2 separate regions of the Homo sapiens genome follow, and region 1 is linked to region 2. Evidence: promoter capture Hi-C in human tissues and cell types (Jung and others, 2019). All regions are on one chromosome and are shown on one strand. Each heading gives the region's core, a stretch centred on a gene start or on the middle of the fragment in contact. The rest is flanking DNA. Distances are from core to core; before and after follow the strand shown. Region 1 has its middle 5.4 kb from the start of MIR4421. Region 2 holds the start of DMRTA2 (DMRT like family A2).

Region 1 (5,951 bases), core at 869-3,368, 630 kb before region 2:
GAAAGAACTGGAAAAAAAAAACTACTTACCGTGAATCTACATCTGGCAAGATTATCCTTTAAAAATGAAGGGGAGATGAATTCTTCCTTAGACAAACAAAAACAAAGGGAGTCTGTCACTACTAGCCCAGCCGTAAAAGAAATGTTTAAAAGAGTTATTTCTTCAAATTGAAATGAAAACACACTAAATAGTATAATGAAAACATATAAAAGCATAAATATTATGAGTAAAGGAAAATATATGGACAAATATAGTTAATATAAAACTATAATGGTGGGGCCTAACTTACTTTTAACCCTAATATAAAAATTAAAAGATAAAAATTTGTCAAAGGATACACAATATAAAAGGCAACAAACTGACTACAAGAACACAAAGTGTAGGGGTGGGGAGTAAAAATGTAAAACGGTTTTTGGTTTTGGTTTTTTTTAGAGACAAGGTCTTACTACATTGCACAGGCTGGTCTCAAACACCTCACTTCAAGCAATCCTCCTGTCTCAGCCTCCCAAAGCACTGGGATTACAGGTGTGAGCCACCATGCCTGGCCAAAAGTATAAAGGTTTTGGATGTGATTGAAATAGTTATAAACTTAAAAATAGATGGTTAGAAATACAAGATATTTTTCATAAGCCTCAAGTTAACCACAAAGAATAAAATCTGTAACAGATACAGAAAACATAAAGAGATGAGAATCAAAGCAATCACTATAAAACATCAAATAACAAACGAATATAATAAGAGAGGAAGAGAGGGGCAATATAACTGCAAAAGACACAAACCAGTTAACAGAATGGCAATAGTAGTCCTCAGCTATCACTAATTACTTTAAATGTAAATGGATTAAACTCACCAATTAAAAGGCATAGAGTGGCTGTGTAATTTGAAAGAACAGGATCCAATGGTATGTTGTTTATAAGAGACTGATTTTAGAGTTAAAGACACATATAGACTAAAAGTGAAGAGATGAGAAAAGATTTCTCACGCAAATGGTAACCAAGGATACGCAGGGTAACTATACTTATGTTAGACAAAACAGATTTTAGTTTAAAGCTGCCTGCAGAGACAAAGTCTTGATATAATTATAAAAAGATCATTTCAACATGATTATGTAACAATTATAAATATGTATATACTGAACAAAGAGCATCTAAATATATAAAGCAAATGTTGACAGATCTGAAGGCAGAATTTGACAGTAACATGATAATAGTAGAGGATTTCAATACTCCACTTATAATAATGTACAGAATATCAAAAAAGAAACAGAAAACACTATAAAACAAATGATCCTAACAGATATATAAAGAAATTTGCACCCAACAACAGAAGATTATCCACTTTTCTCAAGCATACATGGAACATTCTCCAGGATAGATCATATGTTAGATTACAAAACAAGTGACCTAATTTAAGAAGATTGGAATTATTCCAAGTATCTTTCTGGACCACAAGGGATGAAAGTAGAAATCAATAATCTTAAGAAAATAGGAAAAATCACAAACACATAGAAACTCAACAACAAACTCTTGAACAACTCTTGGGTCAAAGAGGAAATCAACGGGTAATTTTAAGAGTATCTTGAGGCTAGAAATGATGGCTCACATCTATAATCCCACTGCTTTGGGAGGCCAAGATGGGAAAATTGCTTGAGACCAAGAGTTTGAGGCTAGCCTGGGCAAAGAAAAAAAAAAAAAAAAAAAAAAAGAAAGAAAGAAAAGAAAGAGAGAAAGAAAGGGAAAAAAAAGAGAAAAACAGTAGAACATACCAAAATTTATAGGGTGCAGCAAAAGCAGTACTAAAAGGGAAGTATATAGTGATAAATGCCTACATTAAAAGAAGAAAGAAGGCCGGGCACAGTGGCTCATGCCTGTAATCCCAGCACTTTGGGAGGCCGAGGTGGGAGGATCACTTGAGGTCAGGAGTTTGAGACCAGCCTGGCCAACATGGCAAAATCTCATCTCTACTAAAAATACAAAAAATTAGCCAAGCATGGTGGTGCGTGCCTGTAATCCCAGCTACGTGGGAGGCTGAGGCAGGAGATCACTTGAACCTGGGAGGTAGAGGTTGCAGTGAGCCAAGATCATGCCACTGCACTCCAGCCTGGGTGACAGAGCATGACTCAGTCTCAAAAAGAAAGAAATAGAAAGAAAAAGAAAGAAAGAAAGAAAAGAAAGAAAGAAAGAAAGGAAGGAAGGAAGGAAGAGAAAGAAAGAAGGGAGGGAGGGAGGGAGGGGAGAGAGGGAGGGAGGAAGGGAGGAAGGAGAAAGATCTCAAATAAGATATTACACCTCAAAGAACTAGAAAAAGAGCAAACTAAGCCCCAAATTAGTGGAATAAAGGAATTAATAAAGATCAAAGAAGAAATAGAGAATATATTTATTTATTTGTTTATTTTTTTGAGACAGAGTCTCACTGTGTCACACAGGCTGGAGTGCAGTGGCATGATCCCGGGTTCAAGTGATTCTCGTGCCTGAGCCTCCTGAGTAGTTGGGATTACAGGTGCCCACCAGCATGCCCGGCTAATTTTTGTATTCTTAGTAAGAGACGGGGTTTCACCATGTTGGTCAGGCTGGTCTCGAACTCCTGACCTCAGGAATTGATTCCTGCTGGGATTACAGGCATGAGCCACTAGGCCTGGCCTCAAATAGAGAATTTTATAAGCAAGAGAAAAGATTCCATAAGACTAAGAGTTGGTTTTTTGAAAACAAAAAATCAACAAAAAATCTCAGTCTTTGCTAGACTGAGAAAAAAGAAAAAAAACTCAAATAAACCAGAAATAAGAGAGGACGCATTGCAAAGAGTGCCTCAGAAATAAAAAGAATCGGCTGAGCATAGTGGCTTACGCCTATAATCCCAGCACTTTGGGAGGCCAGGGAGGGTGGATCACTTGAGGTCAGGAGTTCGAGACCAGCCTGGCCAACATGGTGAAACCCCATCTCTACTAAAAATACACAAATTAGCCGAGTGTGATGGCACATGCCTGTAATCCCAGCTACTTGGGAGGCTGAGGCATGAGAATTGCTTGAACCCAGGAGGTGGAGGCTGCAGTGAGCTGAGATCATGCCACTGCATTCCAACCTTGGTGATGGAGTGGGACTGTCTCAAAAAAAAAAAAAAAAAAAGAATCATAAGGGACTATTATGAACAATTTAATTATATGCCAATAAACTATAACTTAGAAGATTAGAACCATATACCCTGAATTAAGAAAATATAGAAAGCCTGAAGAAACCAATAACAAGTAAGAACATTGAATCAATAATCAAAGCCTTCCAGCAAAGAAAAGCCCAGAATCAGATGGCCTCCTGGGTGAATTGTATGAAACATTTGTAAAATAATTAATACCCTTTCTCCTTAAACTCTTCCCAAAAAGATAAGGAATACTTCCAAATTCATTCTATGAGGCCAGCATCATCCTGACACCAAAACCAGACAAAAACACTATACAAAAGAAAAAGAAAGAAAGAAAACTAAAGAGCAATAGTCCCAATGAATATACATGCAAAAGTCCTCAATGAAATGCTAGCAAACTGAATTCAGTTGCTCATTAAAGGGATCATATACTATGACCAACTTGAGTTTATCCTTGGGAGTTAAGGATGGTTCACTATATGCAAATCAACCAATGAGATACAGCACATTAACAAAATGAAAGAAAAAACCACATGATCTTCTCAATAGATGCAGAAAAAAACATTTGACAAAATTTGCCATCCATTCATGATTAAAGCTACAACAAAATAAATATAGCAGGAACTTACCTCAAAACAACAAAGATCATATATGAAAAGCCCAAACCTAACACCACAATCAAACCTTGGGGGACAGGTCGAAAGCTTCCCCCAAGATCCAATACAAGGCAAGGATGTTCATGCTTGACACTTCTGTTCAACATATTACTGGAAGTTCTTGCCAGAATAATTAGACCAAAATAACATCCAAATTGTAAAAGAATAAGTAAAATTATCTCTGTTTGCAGATGACACAATCAAATATGTACAGAACCCTAAAGGAAAAAAATCTGTTGGAACTAACTAACCAATTTAGTAAAGTTACAGGATAACCAACATACTAAAACACACAAACAGCAAAACTACCTGAAAAGGAAATTTAAAAAACAATCCCATTTACAATAGCTACAAACTTAACCAAAACAGAAACACTTGCATGCTGAAAATTATGAAACATTGATGAAGGAAACTGAAGAAGACACAGATGAATGGAAATACATCCTATGTTCATGGATTGGAAAATTCAATATTTTTAAAATGTCAACATTAGGCCAGGCACAGAGGCTCATGCCTGTAATCCCAGCACTTTGGGAGGCTGAGGTGGGTGGATCACCTGAGATGGGGAGTTCGAGACTAGCCTGACCAACTTGGAGAAACCCCGTGTCTACTAAAAATACAAAATTAGCCAGGCATGGTGGTGCATGCCTGTAATCCCAGCTACTCGAGAGGCTGAGGCAGGAGAATCCCTTGAACCCTGCAGCTGGAGGTTGCGGTGAGCTGAGATCACGCCATTGCACTCCAGCCTGGGCAACAAGAGCGAAATTCTGTCTCAAAAAAAAAAGAAAAAAAAAAGCCACATTATTCAAAGTGATCTACAGATTCAGTACAATCTCTATCAAAATCCCACTGGCATTCTTTATAGAAATAGAAAAAATTATGCTAAAATTTATATGGAACCACAATAGACCCCACATAGCCAAGTCAATCTTGAGCAAGAAAAATGAAGCTAGAGGCATCACACTTCCTGACTTCAAAATATATTACAAAGTGACATTAATCAAAGCAGCATGTTGCTGACATAAAAACAGACATATAGACGAATGGAACAAAATAGAGAACCCAGTCAACTGATCTTTGACAGAGGTGCCAAGAACACACAATGGGGAAAGGATAGCCCCTTACATAAGTGATGTGGGGAAAACTGATACGAGCATACTTAATTTTACTGTAGTTTGCTTTTTTGTGCTTCACAGATCCTGCATTTTTTATTAATTGAAGGTTTGTGGCAACCCTGCACTGACCAAGTCTATCGGTGTCACTTTTCCAAGAGCATGTGCTCACTTTTGGGTCTTTGTCACATTTTGGTTATTCTTTTGATATTTAAAATTTTTTGTTATTATTATATCTATTATGGCGATCTGTGGTCAGTGATCTTTCATGTTATTATTGTAATTGTTTTGGGGCACCACAAACTGCACCCATATGAGATAGTGAACTTAATTGATAAGTATTGGGTGTGTTTTTGCTACCCCACCAACCGACATTCCCCCCATCTCTCTCCCCCTGCTTGGGTCTATTCCCCAAGACACAAGAATATTGAAATTAGGCCAACTAATGATGCTAAAATGGCCTCTAATTGTTCAAGTGAAAGGAAGAGTTGCACATTTATCATCTTAAATCAAAAGCTAAAAGCAATTAAGCTTAATGAGGAAGGCATGTCAAAGGCTGAGATATGCTGAAAGCTAGGACTCTTGCACCAAACAGCAAAGTTGTGAATGCAAAGGAAAAATCCTTGAAGGATATTAAAAGTGCTACTCCAGTGAACATATGAATAATAAGAAAGCAAAACAGACTTATTGTTGACAGAGAGAAAGTTTAGTGGCCTAGATAGAAGATCAAACCAGCCACAATATTGTATTAAGCCAAAGCCTAATTCAGAGCCAGGCCTTAACTCTCTTCAATTCTGTGAAGGCTGAGAGAGGTGAGGAAGCTGGAGAAGAAAAGTCTGAAGCTAGCAGAAGTTAATTCATGAGGTTTAAGGGAAGAAGCCAACTCCATAGCATAAAAGTTAAAGATGAAACAGCAAGTGCTGATGTAGAAGTTACGGCAACCTTTATCCAGAAGATCTAGCTAAGATAATTGATAAAGGTGGCTACTCTAAAGAACAGATTTTTCAATGTACACAAAATAGCCTTCTATTGGAAGAAGATGCCATCTAGG
Region 2 (5,686 bases), core at 2,335-4,834:
CGTCGCAGCCGGCAAACAGATGGCGTCTGCTTGCTCCGAGGCCGCGGGCAAACAGCGCAAAAGTCAATGCCTCCCGGGTCCCCCATCGGCGCCCCTGGCTCTTTTACTCAGAGCTACACTACTCACCCTCGGCCCCCTTCCCCACGCCGCGTCTCCAGCCGGCTCTGCGCCCTAGGCCCTCAACCCCGGCCTCACCCCAACGCAGTCCCTTTGGACGCCACCAGTTCCTGGGCGTGGGCGTGGGGGATGGGGCCGGGGGCGAATAGGGATGGGGTGGATTTTCTTGGCTGGGCCCTCTCACCCGGGCCCCCAGCCCCTGGCACAGCAGAGGCGTCAGCAAATGATTCTGAGCTAAGAGTACGCGTGTGGATGTGTGAGGAAGACCCTCTGCTCTCAGCCGCCTCATTTGTCCCGGAGGGTTTTGGCTTTTTCTGCCCGGGGCCCAACTGTAGAAGTAAGACTGGAGCTCCGCGCATAAACCAGGGCATACCTGCGTAAGAATGTGCTCCTGTCGGCGTGTGCTATCACCGAGGTGGAAATCTGTGGGAGTCTGGGAATGTCACACACCAAGTGGATGGCCCAGGATGGGGACATGCTTATAAGAACACTGTGAGGTCAAACTCACTGAAGGGGTCCCCTTGAGCCGGAGGGTAGCATCAGAGTTGAGCCTGGGCCCGGTGGTGCTCTCTGAATGCTGGCGTGAGAGTGTGTCCCAAACTTTGCAGAGAGTGGTCACACGCACGTGGGAGGGGGTGTGTCCAAGTGTGAAGCTACACTCAGGTTGGGAAGGGGGTAGACCCTGCTGCCTCAACCTGGGCGTGCTCTACTAGTGCTGGTGGCTCAGTTGGGCCATGCCCTTGCTTTCCCCTCCGACCAACCCAATCCAAATCAGGAGGAACTGGCCCTGGAGCGGCCTGGGAAGCTGGGCAGAGGATATCCTGCCCTGTCGAAGTGTGGGTGAGATGACCTTGGGTTTATTTGCCCTCCCTCCATAACGGGTTTATTTTGCCTCCCTCCATAACACATTCACTCACATGAACACCCTAACCTCCGGGGAGTGGGAGAAAAGGCTGTGGGTCTCAGACCTGTGGGGATGTGAATGCCAGAAAAGAGGAGCGAGAGAAGAGTGAGATGCCGCCACTAGGGGTTGGGCGGATTCCCTCTGGTTGGGCTGTGTTAGATGCCAGGATGCTCCTCCTCCCACTCCTGAGAAAATGAAGTTCCTCACGCATCTGCTGGGCCGCCTCGGGTTCCCGAGTCCTCGTGGCTACACCCTTGGCTTCTGCGGGATCCCCGGTCCGGAGTGGGGAAATCTCACGGTGACCTGGCCTCAAGCGAGAAGGATACCTGGGCCACCGCCCCCTCAAAAGCTAGGCAGATTTGTATAGTTTATTTCGTTTTCGGTTTAATAGAATTTCCCGAAAACTTTGTCCAAAGGAGCTCTGGGAGCAGGCGCCTGGCGGCCCCTGCGCGGAATCCGGCGGTTGTCGGCGCTCTTCCCCCGACCCCATGGCTCACCTACCCAGGTGCAGCCGGGGCTAGACATACTTGGCCTCGGAACCTCCAGGTGTTGGAAGGTGGGGTCTGGGTCCTGCGCTCCTAGAGGACATATTATCCCTGAAGCACTCCCTTATCCTCACTTCACGCGGGAGACCCTCGCGGGGGCTGACACCCTTCTCTCTCCTAAACCCATTCACAGACTCCAGCAAGTGGCATTTTCTGGGAGCGAGTAACCAGCTTTTTATCGCTATCATAGACCTTGTCCGTGTCGGAGCGCCCTCGCGCCGGGGCCTGGTGAACTTTCTGGAAGCTCTCCGCCCGGTCCTCCAGCGAATCACCCCCACCCACTCCTCCCTCCAGCCTCAGCCTCCCGGTGGGCATCTTCCAGGGCTCTTCCGGGGCGCCAGGTTCTGCGGTCTTCGGGTGGGGGCCCGTTAGTCGCACCGTCCTTCCCCCACCCCCATTCCTGGGCTCAGAAGCTGATAGACTGACAAGACGCGGCCCAGTAGTCGTGCCAGGCGGAATGGGCTGCGTCCTGAGGCCGCGACGACCCGGGCCGAGTCTGCGCGCCCAGATTCCCGCCGGCCTGGAGGTTCGAAAGAGCAACGCAGAGACGCACGGTCAAGAGTGGAGGGAGAACGACAGGAACGCTCATTTTCCTCATTATTTAAACGAATTTTCTTTATTCTGAAGGAGAGAGAGAAAAGTAGAGAACAAAAACGAGAGTGACAGAACATTAGAAATTAGAGGGAAAAACAGAATTAGAGGGAAAAACAGAACTTTAGAAATTAGAGGGGAAAAGACACAGAGATAAAATCAGAGCTACAGAAACCGAGGGCGACTCGCCCGAGGGCCGCGGCATTAATTCCAGATGTTTGAAAGGCAACAGCCTTTCAAAAAGGAAACAAAATCTGAAACCTGTTACCTCTTCTGCAGAACGAGCTGTTCCTCAGGGCCGTGACATCAAGACAAGACGAGAATAAGGCGAAAGTTAAAACTGAAAACTGTCCGAGGGGGCCTCCCAGCAGTGACTTTGTCTCTTGCCGGGAAGGTCGGACAGACCGATGCGCGTCCTGAGTTTAAGAGAATCTGCGGAGACACAGAGGCCACTTTTTACTTTCGTTTAGAAAAGAAAAAAAAAGGGGGGGGGGCTATTTGTTCATTTGCAATAACGACAAAAAGAATCCCACCACCACGGAAAAGAAATCGAGATGCTGAAAAGTGAGGAAAAGAGAGCTCAAAAGGGGCTGAGGGACGCGAAAAGAGGGGCGGGGAGAGGAAAGGCTCAGGGCGCGAGGGACGTGGCGGGCACCGACAGGAAGTGCAATCTCATTTCTCTTCGCTGAGCTTCTCTTTAAACACGAAAATCTTCATAAACCACACTTACCCTCCAGGATGACTATCGTATCAGGACTTTTAAAATAAAGTAACTGAGCTTTAAGGAGACAGGAGGAAAAAACCAAAGCAGCCCCCAACTACCCCAAACTCGTCGGATTTGGGAGCGCGCCGAAACATAGCAGGAAGAAGGCAGGAAAAATCGTCCTGGCATTTATGCCTTGAACACCCTCCCTTCCCCACCCCCGCACCCTTGTCCCGCCCCTACCCCGACCGCAGTAATTGAATTGTCACCTGCCCCCCATCCCGCCTCAGGGCTCCAGAGCCACTTGGGAAGCTCGGCTTTGCCAAGCGCCCCAGGCCAGTAAGAGCGGTGCAGCCGAGCCGGCGCCCCAGAAGCCGAGAGGTTACACAAGTCTACGCAGAGAGGCGCACCGGACACGGTAATTAGGAGCAATTCACACGCTCTCGGGCGCACGGAAACTACTTGTCAGGAAATTTTCAACGCTCCTCCTCGCCCACTTTTTTCCACTCCTTTCCTGGCGCGCCCCCTCCCCTCCCAGAGGCACGCAGTGGAGCTTTTGGAGTTTCGAATCTTTCGGACACTGCAGAATGCGGGGCTCCCCGGGCGCGGGCCCGGCCAATCAGAGCGCCGTCTGCCTCCCCTGGCCAATGGCAGGCGCCACATTGTTGTCCAATTCTGTCTAATGGAGCCCTAAGGACCAACAATAGAGCGGGCGAGCGGCTCATTGAGAGTCTGGCAGCGCCGGGCAACTGGGCCCCGGCTGCGCGCAGCGTCCGGCGCGCACCGCGAGGGGACCCGGCACGGCGAGAGTCAGGTCGCGGGTTCCAACCACGCGGCCCGCAGACGAGCCTCCGACCCGGATTTCTGAAGGGAGGGTTGGACTGCGCTGCGTTCTGAGGGGTCCGGAAGTTCGGACATGGTGACTGAAGGAGGGTGACGTGGTCAGATAAGGGGCCGGGGGCAAAGGGAAGCGGCCAAGAGCTCCAGCGTCGCCAGTGGAGCCGGGAGGCGCGTGCAGCGCCAGCGGAGGAGGAGGATCCCGGAGCCCAAGGCAGGTAGTTGAGGGCCGCAGGGAGAGCAGTGGGTGGAGACCTGGTCTGCGGCCCCTGTTGAGGAGGCCTGGGCCCCGTGGGCCTTAGGGACGCCCGAAGGGTCTGGGAGAGGAGGCAACGCTCATAGAGAGGAGGTCTGGGACTCTCGGACGGAGACACAAGGACTCTGTCGCGGGCTCTGGCAGGGACGGGGAACGCGGGAAGCAGAGGAGACCGCGGCAGAAGCGGGGAGCTGGGCCTGCTTGGGCCTTATGGGGCTGCGGCGTGGGAGGGACTCTGGTGTCCGTTTATGGCCAGTTGCGAAGGCGACTCCCCTGGCTTGGTGCGGCCTGCTGGGCCATCCGTGTCCTAGGACCCCAACTCTGAGATCAGAACGCAGGAGCCTGCGCTCGAGAGGGGTCCCCTGGGACCCCAAGACGGGGAGGGCGTGTCTGACGACTCTGTCCCTAAACCCGGAGGGGAGGGGAGGGCAGTGTGAGGTGGTCTTCGAGAAAGATCCCCCTCCCGAAATGCCTAACTTTTCGCAGGATACGTCTTCCGCCCCGACTACTACTCCAGACTGCGAAGCTAAAAAACTGCACCACAGGTTTTACCCAATCCCCTCCCCCAGCATTTGCCTGTGGGGTTTTTTCTTACACATTCCCCTCTCCCAGGCGCGGCCCCTGGATCCCGGACACCCAGATCAGCTGCTTTTCACTGTTTTCCTTGCCCATGAAGCTCATCTTTGGGCTGGGTTTGCCTATACAGAAAGTTTCTTTGGCCGAATTTTTCTCTTTAATACTTCCCAGTCCTAAGCTAAATTCCACATACATTTTGTCTCTCACTCTCTGGAGGCCCTCACCGTGGAACTTTTGGCGCTCACATTTTTACGGGTCCCAGAGCCACTGGGCCTAACTTTGCCCAAGTTGTTTCCTCGTCCTCACTCTGCTTCCTAAAGCTATTCTTTCTGTTGTTGATTTTTCTCTCCAAAGCTTCTGCCCCAAACTGCATTAAAAATAAACAAACAAAAAGAAACAAAACTCCGGCCCAACCGGCCTTCACATCTGCGCCTTCACATCTCTCTCCTCTTCACCCTTCCACCAAACTGACCGTTTTGCTCCGGGTTTTCCTGTTTTGCCCTTGGCATCAGCCTAACTTCTGGGCCAAAACTGTCGCTCTAATCCCAGTCCCGTCAAACGAGCATTTCTCTCACCCGTCTCACCCCAATTAGGCTAAGCTTTGGGGTATCATCTTAACTTTTCCAAATTCTCATTACAGCCATCTGAATCAGTGACTTTCACACTTTACATGTCTCTTTATTTTTTCCAGCGGAATCACTAATTCAGACAAAATCTTACCCCTAGCGTGTATATCAGGTCTAAGAGCAGCCATGGCCAGACTGGGGTGAAGGTGCTAGGGCTCACAAGGAGGTTCCGACTGCACCTCCTCCCAGCAATTCTGGCCCCTCTAGCCCAGCCTCCGCGGCCCAAATTTCCCTCTCCAGCTTGGGTTCCTCAAGGCGGCGCTTTGGCCTAGCGCGCGGTGTGCTCCTCACCAGGTCTCTCCCCTCTCCCACCTTCTTTCCCGTCAGGTCCTGTCATGGAGCTGCGCTCGGAGCTGCCCAGCGTGCCCGGCGCGGCGACGGCGGCGGCGGCAACAGCGACGGGGCCGCCTGTGGCGTCGGTGGCGTCGGTGGCGGCAGCCGCGGCGGCCGCTGCATCGCTACCGGTGAGCGTGGCAGGCGGCTTGCTGCGGGGGCCGCCACTGTTGCTGCGGGCAGCCGAGAAGTACCCGC

What was found. The method cuts DNA at HindIII sites, captures the fragments that hold promoters and counts their contacts. A contact is called where the count stands out against the background at its distance.
Region 1: a fragment that was not itself captured here is called in contact with the fragment with the promoter of DMRTA2 in region 2 in 1 of the 25 tissues and cell types used here (dorsolateral prefrontal cortex).

Annotation. Positions count from the first base shown.
Region 1 is chr1:51,051,444-51,057,394 of GRCh38, reverse strand. No RefSeq gene overlaps it. Among named protein-coding and RNA genes, the nearest start is that of MIR4421, 5.4 kb to the left of the region's middle. The HindIII fragment of the contact is 5,033 bases long and covers 1-4,634 here.
Region 2 is chr1:50,421,341-50,427,026 of GRCh38, reverse strand. DMRTA2 (DMRT like family A2) reads left to right here and starts at 3,584. Exons shown (of 3, transcript NM_032110.3): 1 at 3,584-3,911; 2 at 5,483-5,686. The coding sequence starts at 5,491. LOC105378714 (a long non-coding RNA gene) reads right to left here and starts at 3,481. Exons shown (of 3, transcript XR_947325.3): 1 at 3,130-3,481; 2 at 2,426-2,589; 3 at 2,155-2,187. RefSeq lists enhancers at 1-577, 5,289-5,686 and a silencer at 2,402-2,461. The HindIII fragment of the contact is 21,358 bases long and covers 1-5,686 here.